Linked DNA regions of Homo sapiens: all the other regions are linked to region 2. The links are contacts of gene promoters, found by promoter capture Hi-C in blood cells and fetal thymus (Javierre and others, 2016). All regions are on one chromosome and are shown on one strand. Each heading gives the region's core, a stretch centred on a gene start or on the middle of the fragment in contact. The rest is flanking DNA. Distances are from core to core; before and after follow the strand shown. Region 1 overlaps AFF3 (ALF transcription elongation factor 3). Region 2 holds the start of LONRF2 (LON peptidase N-terminal domain and ring finger 2). Region 3 overlaps AFF3 (ALF transcription elongation factor 3). Region 4 overlaps AFF3 (ALF transcription elongation factor 3).

The links. Contacts are between HindIII fragments. The CHiCAGO score rates a contact against its expected background, and 5 or more counts as called.
Region 1: a fragment that was not itself captured here is called in contact with the fragment with the promoter of LONRF2 in region 2 in 7 of 17 cell types (M2 macrophages, M0 macrophages, M1 macrophages and 4 more); the score reaches 8.7 in M2 macrophages.
Region 3: a contact is called between a fragment that was not itself captured here and the fragment with the promoter of LONRF2 in region 2, in 10 of 17 cell types (M1 macrophages, fetal thymus, naive CD8 T cells and 7 more). The highest score is 8.7, in M1 macrophages.
Region 4: a contact is called between a fragment that was not itself captured here and the fragment with the promoter of LONRF2 in region 2, in 4 of 17 cell types (megakaryocytes, total CD4 T cells, M0 macrophages and 1 more). The highest score is 7.8, in megakaryocytes.

Annotation. Positions count from the first base shown.
Region 1 is chr2:99,565,102-99,567,801 of GRCh38, forward strand. It overlaps AFF3 (ALF transcription elongation factor 3), which reads right to left. Exons shown (of 25, transcript NM_001386135.1): 20 at 386-522. Among named protein-coding and RNA genes, the nearest start is that of REV1, 76 kb to the left of the region's middle. The HindIII fragment of the contact is 3,586 bases long and covers 1-2,700 here.
Region 2 is chr2:100,321,191-100,323,890 of GRCh38, forward strand. LONRF2 (LON peptidase N-terminal domain and ring finger 2) reads right to left here and starts at 1,311. Exons shown (of 12, transcript NM_198461.4): 1 at 225-1,311. The coding sequence starts at 903. The HindIII fragment of the contact is 11,643 bases long and covers 1-2,463 here.
Region 3 is chr2:99,586,597-99,589,296 of GRCh38, forward strand. It overlaps AFF3 (ALF transcription elongation factor 3), which reads right to left. Exons shown (of 25, transcript NM_001386135.1): 16 at 558-682. Among named protein-coding and RNA genes, the nearest start is that of REV1, 98 kb to the left of the region's middle. The HindIII fragment of the contact is 2,150 bases long and covers 214-2,363 here.
Region 4 is chr2:99,547,528-99,550,227 of GRCh38, forward strand. AFF3 (ALF transcription elongation factor 3) reads right to left here. Exons shown (of 25, transcript NM_001386135.1): 25 at 1-2,700. Among named protein-coding and RNA genes, the nearest start is that of REV1, 59 kb to the left of the region's middle. The HindIII fragment of the contact is 4,123 bases long and covers 1-2,700 here.

The sequences.
Region 1 (2,700 bases), core at 169-2,668, 760 kb before region 2:
CCAGAAGTATTTACTGATGGAGCTAAGATTTAGATGATACTAACCTGAACCAGATTTTTTTTTTTTTTTAAAGCAGCCTAGGGCTGAAATAGGCTCAAAATCTGCCACTTCCTAGCTGAGAGGAGCAGGCATGTCACAGCCCACTCAGACTCAGCCTCCTCCCTCAGCAATTGGGGGCTACAGCAGCTGCCCCCCTTGCTCACGGAGGACAGAGGGGGCAGGGTGTGCCAAGACGCCTTGCACGACCTTACCCTCTTATTTTGGGGGGATGAACACTGGTTCCTGGTGGGGGATGGTGCAGGCTGACATTCTTTTCTCTGTAACCATAGTGCTTCCACACATTCCTCACTCCTCCCCTCATCCAGCAAGAAAACACGGTGCTTACCTGATGAGCTCTACTGTTTCTGAATACATCGTATAAGGAGATTTGGATTCCATGGGGCCTTGTTCCATTGCATTTCCACACTCGATAAACGACAATGCTGCTTCAGCATAGTTCAAAGCCTTTCCAAACTTTTCCACCTGATCAACAGAGTTAATACAGTGTCTTCCTAAACAATAGTTTTTTTTAAATGGCATTGTCATGTAGTTTATACACCTTATTTGAGAAACCCAACTCTGACTTCTAAAATCCTATGAAGCTGAGAGAAGAAAGAAATAGAATACTTCTTTTCCTACTTATTTTCTCAAACTGCTACTGGCTTGGAGTAAGTGAGCGAACAGTTATATACAGAATTGTATCAAACCCATGTGACAGCTGTCAATCAACAGAGCTCAGAACTGCATGGCTGCTCTGATTTCTGTTTCCCTCTTTCTAACCCCTAATGGTTTGGCGACTTCATTCCTTGTTCCTCCATGCTATGCTAAATATGCATCAAAGTTGGTAGGTCTGGTCCCATATAAGAGTTTTCATACTTCTTTTGGTACATCCCCAACTTGGATGGTTCTAGGCCTTGGTTATTATCTTTTACATTATTTGTGGCACTTATATCTCCATGCCTTCCTCTTCTCAATTTTTTTTAATTTTTTTATTTTTGAGATGGAGTCTCCCTGCAACCTCTGCCTCCTATGTTCAAGCGATTCTCCTGCCTCAGCCTCCCACGTAGCTGGAATTACAGGCAGGCATAGGCCACCACACCTGGCCTCAATTGTTTTTTTTTTTTGTTGTTGTTAATATTTAGAACCTCACTTAAGAGTGAGAGTGAGTAGGGGAAAGGAGAGGAGATAAACCTCAAGGAGCTATTTCAGCTTTGCTAAAATAGGACAAAAAGTTGAAAATTATTAATAAAAATGATTTTTGGTTGGGCCTGGCGGCTCATGCCTGTAATCCCAGTGTTTTGGGAAGGTGAGGCAGGAGGATCACTCGAGCCTGGAAGTTTGAGGTTCCAGTGAGCTATGATCGCCCCACTGTGCTCCAACCTGGATAACACAGCAAGACGCTGTCTCTAAAGGCAAAACAAAACACATTTCTACGGGATTATCTGTAGCTGTCGAAATTTGTGTTATTCTTTCCCCACATCAGCAAGGGCAGCCACAAATCAGCTTTATATTCTTAAGATCTCATCAGTCTAAACTTATGCATCAAGTTCCTGGTTCCATACCTTACTACTCTTTGTAGGTAATTACATATTCTAACTCTGGATTGCAGAATCTCCCCAGTTTTCAAATGATTCATTCATCAATTAAAACAGAATGACATAATACTCAAATACTATTCCAAGTCTTGCCACTAAAAATACAAAAAAAACTTCATTAGTAATGATAGCTTCAAAACCAGAAATGCAGAGCAAAACTTCCTCTCCTTAGCAAATCAAAATTTTAAACTGCTTATAAAGGTAGTGTAGGCTATAATGCAACATTTCTTTTTTCTTTTTTTTTTTTTTGGAGACAGGGTCTCACTCTGTCACCCAGGCTGGAGTGCAGTGGCATGATCTTGGCTCATTGCAATCTCTGCCTCCCGGGTTCAAGCGAGTCTTCTGTCTCAGCCTCCCAAGTAGCTGGGATTACAGGTGTGCACCACCACACCTGGCTCATTTTTTTTTTTTTTTTTGTATTTTTAGTAGAAACAGGGTTTCACCATGTTGGCCAGGCTGGTCTCGAACTCCTGACCTCAAATGATCCACCTGCCTTAGCCTCCCAAAGTGCTGGGATTACAGGTGTGAGCCACCGTGCCTGGCCTATAATGCAACATTTCTTGATAACACTTTCAGATGAAGTCATTTCATTTAGTATTAATATTTCCTAAAGCACCCAATTCTGTGGTATGTGCACTCCACAAGCGAAAGCTCTTTCCAGGAACATATAATAGACTTGGAGAGAGAAAATGTACACCTACAAGACAGTTCAAAGTGCAAGGCAGTCTGTGATTACCCAACAAAATACAAAATGAGGCATCCAGTGCAAATGAGATGGAGGAAAGTGAGCTAGTGATGGGGCCGCAGAGAGGCTGGGAAGGCCACAGGGAGGAGACTGAATATGACGCCGGGAAGGAATGGTAGGGTTTGGCTAGATTTGGGGAGGATGCTGAGGGTGTGAGTGTGCCCATGAGAGTGTGTGAGAGTGAATCTCTGCAGGTGCAAAGGCCCGCTGGCTGGCAGGAGCAAGGTGTGCTTAGAGGTCAGTAGGGGACCAGCCTGGCTGGAGCAGAGTGTCTCCTCTTGGGAAATCGTCAACAGGAAAGATAGGGTTGGGCAAGAGGAC
Region 2 (2,700 bases), core at 61-2,560:
GCATCCTGGAAAAGACAAAACCAGTGGGGTGCACTTGGCCTCTCCTGGCTGCAGGGTGTGGCCGCCCCCACCTTTCACCTTCCCATCCTTAGGAAGCAAAGTGACCCCTAAGCCTAGACAAAGCTCTCGAAAGCCCAAAGCCTCGGGCCCACCGGCCAGCTCCCCACCCCGCTGCTGGGCCGGACAGGTGTAGGGGAGGCGGACCCGCCCCGCAGCCGACTCACCCAGCTCCAGGGCCTGGTCGCACCTGAGCAGCGCGGCCTCCGGCTGCTGCTGGCGCTGCAGGCTCCGCGCCTGGCCTGCCAGCCTGCGCAGCCGGCACTCGGCCGGGAAGCACTTCTCCAGCAGGCCGCTCAGCACCACGTTCACGCGCCGCACCTGCGGCCGCGCGGGCCCTGGCTCCACGCAGCGCTTGCAGACTGTGAGCCCGCAGGGCAGCGTCACCGGCTTATGCAGCAGCCGCCGGCAGCGCGGGCAGCCGAGCAGGTCGCGGGGCGCGCGGGGCTCCGGGGCCGGCCCTCCCTCGCCGGGCGCCTCGGGCTCGCCGCCCGGGTTCTCCGCGGACAGCGGCCGGTCGCGCAGGCCCACGGCGCGCACCAGGCCGCCCGCCAGCTCTTCCAGCTCCTCCGGCCGCAGCGCCCCGAGCCGCGCGGCGCCGCGGAACGCGCCCAGGGCTTCGGGGAGGCGGCCGGCGCGGGCCAGCGCGTCCCCCAGCCTCAGGCACAGGCCGCGGTCCGGCTGCGCCAGCCCGGCTAGCATGGAGCGAAAGAGCTCGGCTGCCATCTCGTAGTCGCCCGCGCGGAAGGCCTCGTCGCCCTCCTCTAAGCGCTGGGCGATCGGCTCCGCGCGGTCGCAGCCAGGACACTGGGGCGGCGGCGGCGGCGGGACCGGCTCGGGGCTCATCACCGCGGGGCTGCGACGACGCGGGTCCGGAGCGAAGGCGCGGAGCAGGGAGGATGCGCTGCTGCTGGGAACTGGCCGGCGGGAGCGCGGTCTCAGCCCTCGCCAGCAGCCACGCGCGTCTGGGGGCGGCGCGCTGCGAGCGGCTGAGACCGCGGGCGGGGGCGGGCGCCTGGCTTGGGCAGCGTCCTCAGCGCGGTGTGGGCGGCGAGCCCCGCAGGGCTGCAATCGTTCCGGGGTGGGGGCCGGGACAGGCACCGCGGGCGCAATCTGAGCCCCTGCCCACGCGCAGCGGCCTCTCAGTCCCGCCGGCTTAGGTAACCCAGGTCGCTGCGGTAACGCAGTGACCGCGCTCCAGGTCCGCGTCTCTTGCGATGCTTCCCCCACTCGCCTGAGGGCTCCTGCGCGACTGCGCGCGCGTCCTCTGCCTGCCGCCTCCCCGCAGAGGTGCCGGGGCCCTGGGAGCAGGTGGCCTTGGCCGCGGGCTGCTGGCGCGCCGGCACCGCGGCACCTGCTCTTCCCCAGAGGCCTGGCCGCCCCCACAACCTGTGGCTCCGCTTAAGCAAGAACCCAGGAAAAGTCACCAAACGCATCACGCATCTCTAGCTTCGACTTAGGAAATTGTCCTAAATGACTGGGGAGGCTGAAGTGGGCACCCAGAGGCCCCGCCTCAGCGAGCTTCTTCTCTTAACTCTAGGCTGAGGCCTTTGAGAACTCATTTTAACAGAGAACGTGGAGGGCCAAGAGAACCAGATACCAGGAGGAGGAGGGATTCGAGAAGTGGACAATTGTATTGTGCCCTTGATTAGGAAGCAGAAATAGAATTAGAAATAGAATTCTAATTAATAGAATTAGAATAGAAATAGAAAGGGTGCCCTAGTATGGAGTACTGCAGACATAAGTTGCTGGGGAGAGGGAGCTAAACGCTCCGTTGGTGTACAAGCAAGGTTTAAATTAAAATCCTCTGTGCGTATTAACCGGGTTCATAATTTCTCCTATATAGCCTATGTATTTCTCCTATGTAGCCTGCTCCCTTCTTCCTGTCGTCACAGTATCTGTTTTATCCTGTGTATTTGAATACAATAAAATGCATTACAATATTCTAGAATTCATACTACTGTTCATATTTCAAGAATAAATTTTTTTAAAAAATTGGAGAGGTTTTTCTACATCTAAAACTGCTGGCTAAAGAAAATATACAATACCTCGACCACATCTGGCTTTGGGAAAGGAGAAATGCCTCATTAAGTGAGAGAACATTTTAGACCAGTTCCTAAAAGGGAAAAAGGGGCAATTTTTGGCCAGCCCTCTAGTTCTACAATAAACAAATGCAGAGTACCCACCTCCTTTTCCATGAAGGATTTCCCCCAGCTGTCTACCTAACTTAATTGATAACAGTGTACTGTTTGGGTCTCTTTTTCATTACTGAATTATTTCAAATTCACTTTTTCAATCACTGTTTGGATTTTTATCTGCTTTCTTTATAGAATAACAATTCACTTATATTTGAGGGTCATTTATCCATCAAATTCACAACCAACAATCAGGAAGCAATGGGGAAAAAGCTTCAGAGCACAGACCATACAGTAAAGATTGTGAAACCTTATGATCTCAGATCCTATTTGTTCTTATTTTAGACAAATATCTAGCAAGAGAACAGAAAGAAGCTTGCCGGAGGTATGCCTGCTGAGAGCCAGAAGTGTTTAAAGCAAAAATGTTAGTGTGTTGTGAGGTTTATAACACATAGAAATAAAATATATCACAAATATAACACAAAGGCAGGTAGAGGAGAAATGGCAG
Region 3 (2,700 bases), core at 39-2,538, 730 kb before region 2:
ATCTTGCTTTGCTTGTAAGCCATTCATCACAGAGGGGAGTCAGTGCTGGATGCGTCCATCTGGAACCTCTTGAGAGGAGTGTGTGGGTGGCCATTTAACCTTGGGAGCACGGACCCTTCTAAGGCCACAATTTTAGTCTATATCCAATTAATTGCTTTAGGTGCTACACATGGAGATTCAGCTTGAAGTGTGTATTTCTTCGTCTGTGTAATAAGCTTAGTGTTCTTAGGAGTTTAGCGGTTACCATTAAAATATTGATTAGAAATTCAGTTATTAAGTTTTTTTGGGGGAAGGGCATGTCTTGGGGAGTGCAGAGCTGTGTGTAACTAGTATCTGGTCTTTGGTTATGGAGAAGAACCTTGCGTGAGTATCTGGAGCTATAATGTGTGGCACATGTGTAGCCATAATAATAAGATTTGGGTTAAAGGAGGGAAGCAAGTCTGCAGACCTTGACCAGAGTAGTCCTCAAAAAGCCTGACCCTCCTCCAACATAGCAGGTGACTTTCAGACCCAGAGATCTCTCCAGCTCACTTCCACTTTGGAGGGAATGCACGTACCTGTTGATGTTCATGTTGCAGTGGTTTGCAGACAAAGTATTACTGGTGGAGGTGGCCAGTCTTGAAGAGCTGTCTTTCTCTCCCTGGGACTTCTTGATCTCCCTGTAGTCGTCTTCGTTGTCACACTGTATGGGAATAAACTAAAGTCAATCAGCACTGGATTTCAAGAGGTATTATGAGTTCCCAGGCACCGACTTCCACAGAGCAAGGCCTCCTGGGAGCCCCACTCACCTGGCTTCCCCGAAGCACAGCCTGAGCAGCTGTGCCCCTGCCATAGCTTCCCCATTAGCTCCTCAACAAGCAAGGATGAAATCTGTCAGTTTTACAATTGACAGCTGATGGAGAGGAGAGGCACGACGCCATGATTCAACATTTTGAATTCTGAAAGCTGCTCTGCCATCAACCGGCTTAGGATTTAGCCCTCCAACTGGTCTGAGTTCCCACTGCAGCTCCAGCGGCACTCACCTTGGCATTTCTTGGTATCAGAATAAAGTACAGCAAGTGTGTGTTCTCTGGGATTCATGCCATAAGGGCAGTGGCAAGCCTGGACTTTTCTGTTTTAAAAATTCTTGCTTTGGCCAGGTGCGGTGGCTCATGCCTGTAATCCCAGCACTTTGGGAGGCCGAGGCAGGCGAATCACGAGGTCAGGAGATCAACACCATCCTGGCCAACATGGTGAAACCCCATCTCTACTAAAATACAAAAAATTAGCCAGGTGTGGTGGTGCACGCCTGTAGTCCCAGCTACTTGGGAGGCTGAGGCAGGAGAATCGCTTGAACCTGGGAGGCAGAGATTTAAGTGAGCTGAGATCACGCCACTGCACTCCAGCCTGGTGACAGAGTGAGACTCCGTCTCAAAAAAAAAAAAAAAAATTATTGCCTTTTGTGAACTGCAAGCAGAAGCTATTATCTCTTGGTGCCTTAATTCTAGTTTTCAATTACTATCCCATGACATCTTAGAATCCATAAAGTACCTTTTTCTAAAACAGTACTTTGATTGGATCCTTGTTGCCATGATTGGGTTTAATTTTATTTGTTTATTTAGAGACAGTCTTGCTCTGTCACCCAGGCTGGAGTGCAGTGGTGCGATCATGGCTCACTGCAGCCTCGACCTCCCAGGCTCAGGTGATCCTCCCGCCTCAGCCTTCCAAGTAGCTGGGAATGCAAGTGTGTGCCACCATGCCTGGCTAATTTTTTGTATTTTTTGTAGAGACGGGGCTTTGCCATGTTGCTCAGGCTGATCTCAAACTCCTGGGCTCAAGCGATCCTCCCACCTTGGCCTCCCAAAGTGCTGGGATTACAGGTGTCAGCTATCAGGCCAGCCTGTGTTTAACTTTAGATATGTGTTAAGGTGCAACACAAATATATTCAGAAAGTACCATTTTCCATGAGATAACAGGAACCTAGTATGGTATCCTCAGGGCTGTCTGCATTGTTTTCCAGGAGACAAGTGCCAACACCAAAGAGAGAAAGACTCTGACTTTCTCGCTCTGGCTGGGATTTTGCCACACAGCCTCTGCCACAGGGGCTCCCAGATGCCCACACTGTAATAGTACCCCCATGGAGGGCCCAAACCAAAGCTCCGAGTTCTTAGTCCTTAGCTCCAGGGCTCCAGCAGGGCGAGACTCCACAAATTTGACAGCCAGGTCTATGGGGTCCCATCTCCAGCACCCAGTACTGGGGTACTAATGCCCAGAATACCAAGTAAAGAGCACTATAAGAATGTTCTTTCACTTCTCTTGTGTCTGTGTTTAATGATTCTTTAGATTTTATGAGTACAGCCAGGTGTCAGGCTTACTGTAAATGAAGCTTCTTAAGTTAAAATAAAAATGGCCATAAGTAATACAACTATTTAAACACAGAATATTACGGAATTTTATGTAAGTCTTTCTGCACATCTCTCTAGTAAACTCTGCATGCCTGGATGGCTTTATGTATTTCCAATCTGTCTATATATTACCAATGTCTATCTCTGCATATTTCATGTGTATATTTCCATCAGCGTATTCAGTTAGCCATCCATCCCAGAGGTAATAGCCACACTCATTCCCAGATGATTAACTGATTGATTGATTCCTACACTCAACAAAGACTGAGCACCAGCAAGTAGTAAGGAAGACAGGGTGTGTAGAGAAAAACAGGAG
Region 4 (2,700 bases), core at 186-2,685, 770 kb before region 2:
AGTAACTCTGGAAAACTGTGAAAAATGTTATTTAAAAATATATATGTATATGCTACTGCACAGTTTCAAAGATGTGATTCATAAATAATGTTGGCTGCACTGATTAATTTTATAACAATTACTGCACTTCCAAGTTGATGCGAACACGCAGTGACTCATACTCAATATTAGGCACTAGTAATATCCTTCAGGCGTACTACAGTTTTATGTTAGCTGTATTGTACATATATATTTTTAAATGTATGCATTTATACAAACTGTGTATATTATGTATGGGGTGTCAGAAATGTACACATCACTGTTATATAATACACACATCATTGTTGTACATATGAGGATAAGTTTTAGTGCAGAAAGTCTCATTGCATTGCATTCCATGTGTTCAATCTAGTACACAATTTGTCAACTCTTCAGATTATTTTTCCAGTACATTCCTCATTAGATTGTGGGTTTCAAGTTTCCATTTGCAATTTGAATGTTTCCAGAAATCTCTGTCTTAACCAAACCTCTCTCTCCAGGCACGATTCTGCACATGAGTCTGATCTGTGTAGAGTAGTATCATCAAAAATGCCAAATTTTGATCAGGAATATACCTGGACTACTCTCTTTCAAAGGCAATTGAACATCGTGATAAAGGATAGCATCTATTCAGGTCATGGAAGGATATGGTCAGTTGAACTTGTGTTGAACTTTGGAGGCAAATGTACGTCTTCAAATAAAAAGACATGGTAATAAAAATTATTTGCTTAAATTTGAGAGTCTCTGGAAGGATATACATCAAACTGTGAGCAGTGGTTGTCTCAGGCAGAAGGGACAACCAGGGACTTACACTTTCTACTTTCTACATTTCTGCACTGTTTGAGTTTTTACAATGAGTAGATATTACTTTTCTAATTAGAAAACACAAGAAAGGTATTTCAACTTGAAACAAAACTAAACAGGCCAGGCATGGTGGCTCATGCACTTTGGGAGGCCGAGGCCAAAGGATCGCTTGAGCCCAGGAGTTTGAGACCAGCCTGGGCAACATAGTGAGACCCCCATCTCTACAAAAAAAATAAAGAAAAAATTAGCCGGGTGTGGTGGCACGTGCCTATCTTCCCAGCTGCTTGGGAGGCTGAGGCAGGAGGATTGCTTGAGCCCAGGAGTTTGAGGCTGCAGGGAGCCATGATCGCGCCACCGCATTCCAGCTTGGGCTACAGAGCCAGACCCGGTCTCAAAACCAACCAAACCAACAACAACAGCAGTAACAACAAAACTAAGTAAAAGGAACAAGTTATGAATGACTTTCACAAGCAACAATTGGAGGATGGTTACTAACCAAAATCACCCATGCCAAACCCCACAGAAACTGCTGTACCAACGTGCTCCACACGTGCTCCACAGATGAAACAAGACAGTCATAAGAACTACACGCTCTGACCACTGCCCACAACGGTAAGTTTCAAGAAGTTTTCCTGGGAAATGTGGGCCATCAGAGTGCTGATAAAACACTGCTGGCCCACCTGTCAAATGGGGCTTCACAGGGAAGCTCATCACATAGATGTTACAACAAAGTCTGCAACTTTCAAGGTGGGCAGGACCAGAGAAGCTCTCCAGGTATGCAGGATAGACCTCCAGGGCCATCCCTTTATGTGTTTGAATATTTCATCAGGATTCTTCAAGAGTAGGTAGAACAAAGCCTCAGTCCTCCAAAAAAATGACTCAAAATTTCTTAAGTTAGGTTCAAGTTTCTGACATAGGATGGGATTGTGAACTCTGCCAAAAATTAGTGAAAGGGCTGGGTGTGGTGGCTCACGCCTGTAATCACAACACTTTGGGAGGTGGAGGCGGGTAGATCACCTGAGGTCAGGAGTTTGAGACGAGCCTGGCCAACATGGTGAAACCCAGTCTCTACTAAAAACACAAAAATTAGCTGGGCATGGTAGTGCACACCTGTAATCCCAGCTACTTGGGAGGCTGAGGCGGGACAATCACTTGAACCCAGGAGGCAGAGGATGCAGTGAGCCGAGATCGTGCCACTGCACTCCAGCCTGGGCAACAGAGCGAAACTCGTCTCAAAAAAAAAGTGAAAGGGTTGTAAGAAGCACCCCAGTTGGAGACATGTAAAATGGAAATTCTCTTAATATTTCCAAATGCTTGAAGGCCAAAGCCAAATGCAAATTCCACAAGCCCTTCTTATTTTCAATTAATTTCAAATCATCTAAGTTGTTCAGTCATTTATACAATTTTGAATCAGTGCTCAGAGCTAAGGAATTATGATGATCTTACTTCCCACCTACAGATCAGGCTAACAAAAATGTTAACACTGCAAACCAACCTGTAAGAATATCAGTGAATGTTTATGGATCAGCATCTAGTCTAAGTATTTTGTGCCGTCATCACCTTGAAAAAATGGATTGCACCACATATTACACCGCCTGCCTTTCTCAGACCGTCCTGGTGCAACTTTATCAAGTAAGAGGCCACAAGGACATTATTTTTGTTTTTAACGTGTGGCAAGATAGACCCTCTTTTTCAGGAGTTATTTTCTTTTCGTCAAGATTTCATATCCAAATATATTTAACAAGATGACTAAATCTAGGGCATAAGACACTACAAAAGAAAAAACATCAGACAAAAACTGTAAACAAGATGTCAAAGAAACTAAAATGTAAACTTAATTAAAAAAAGAAAACAAGAGAAAAACTCAGAGCAAGGTGT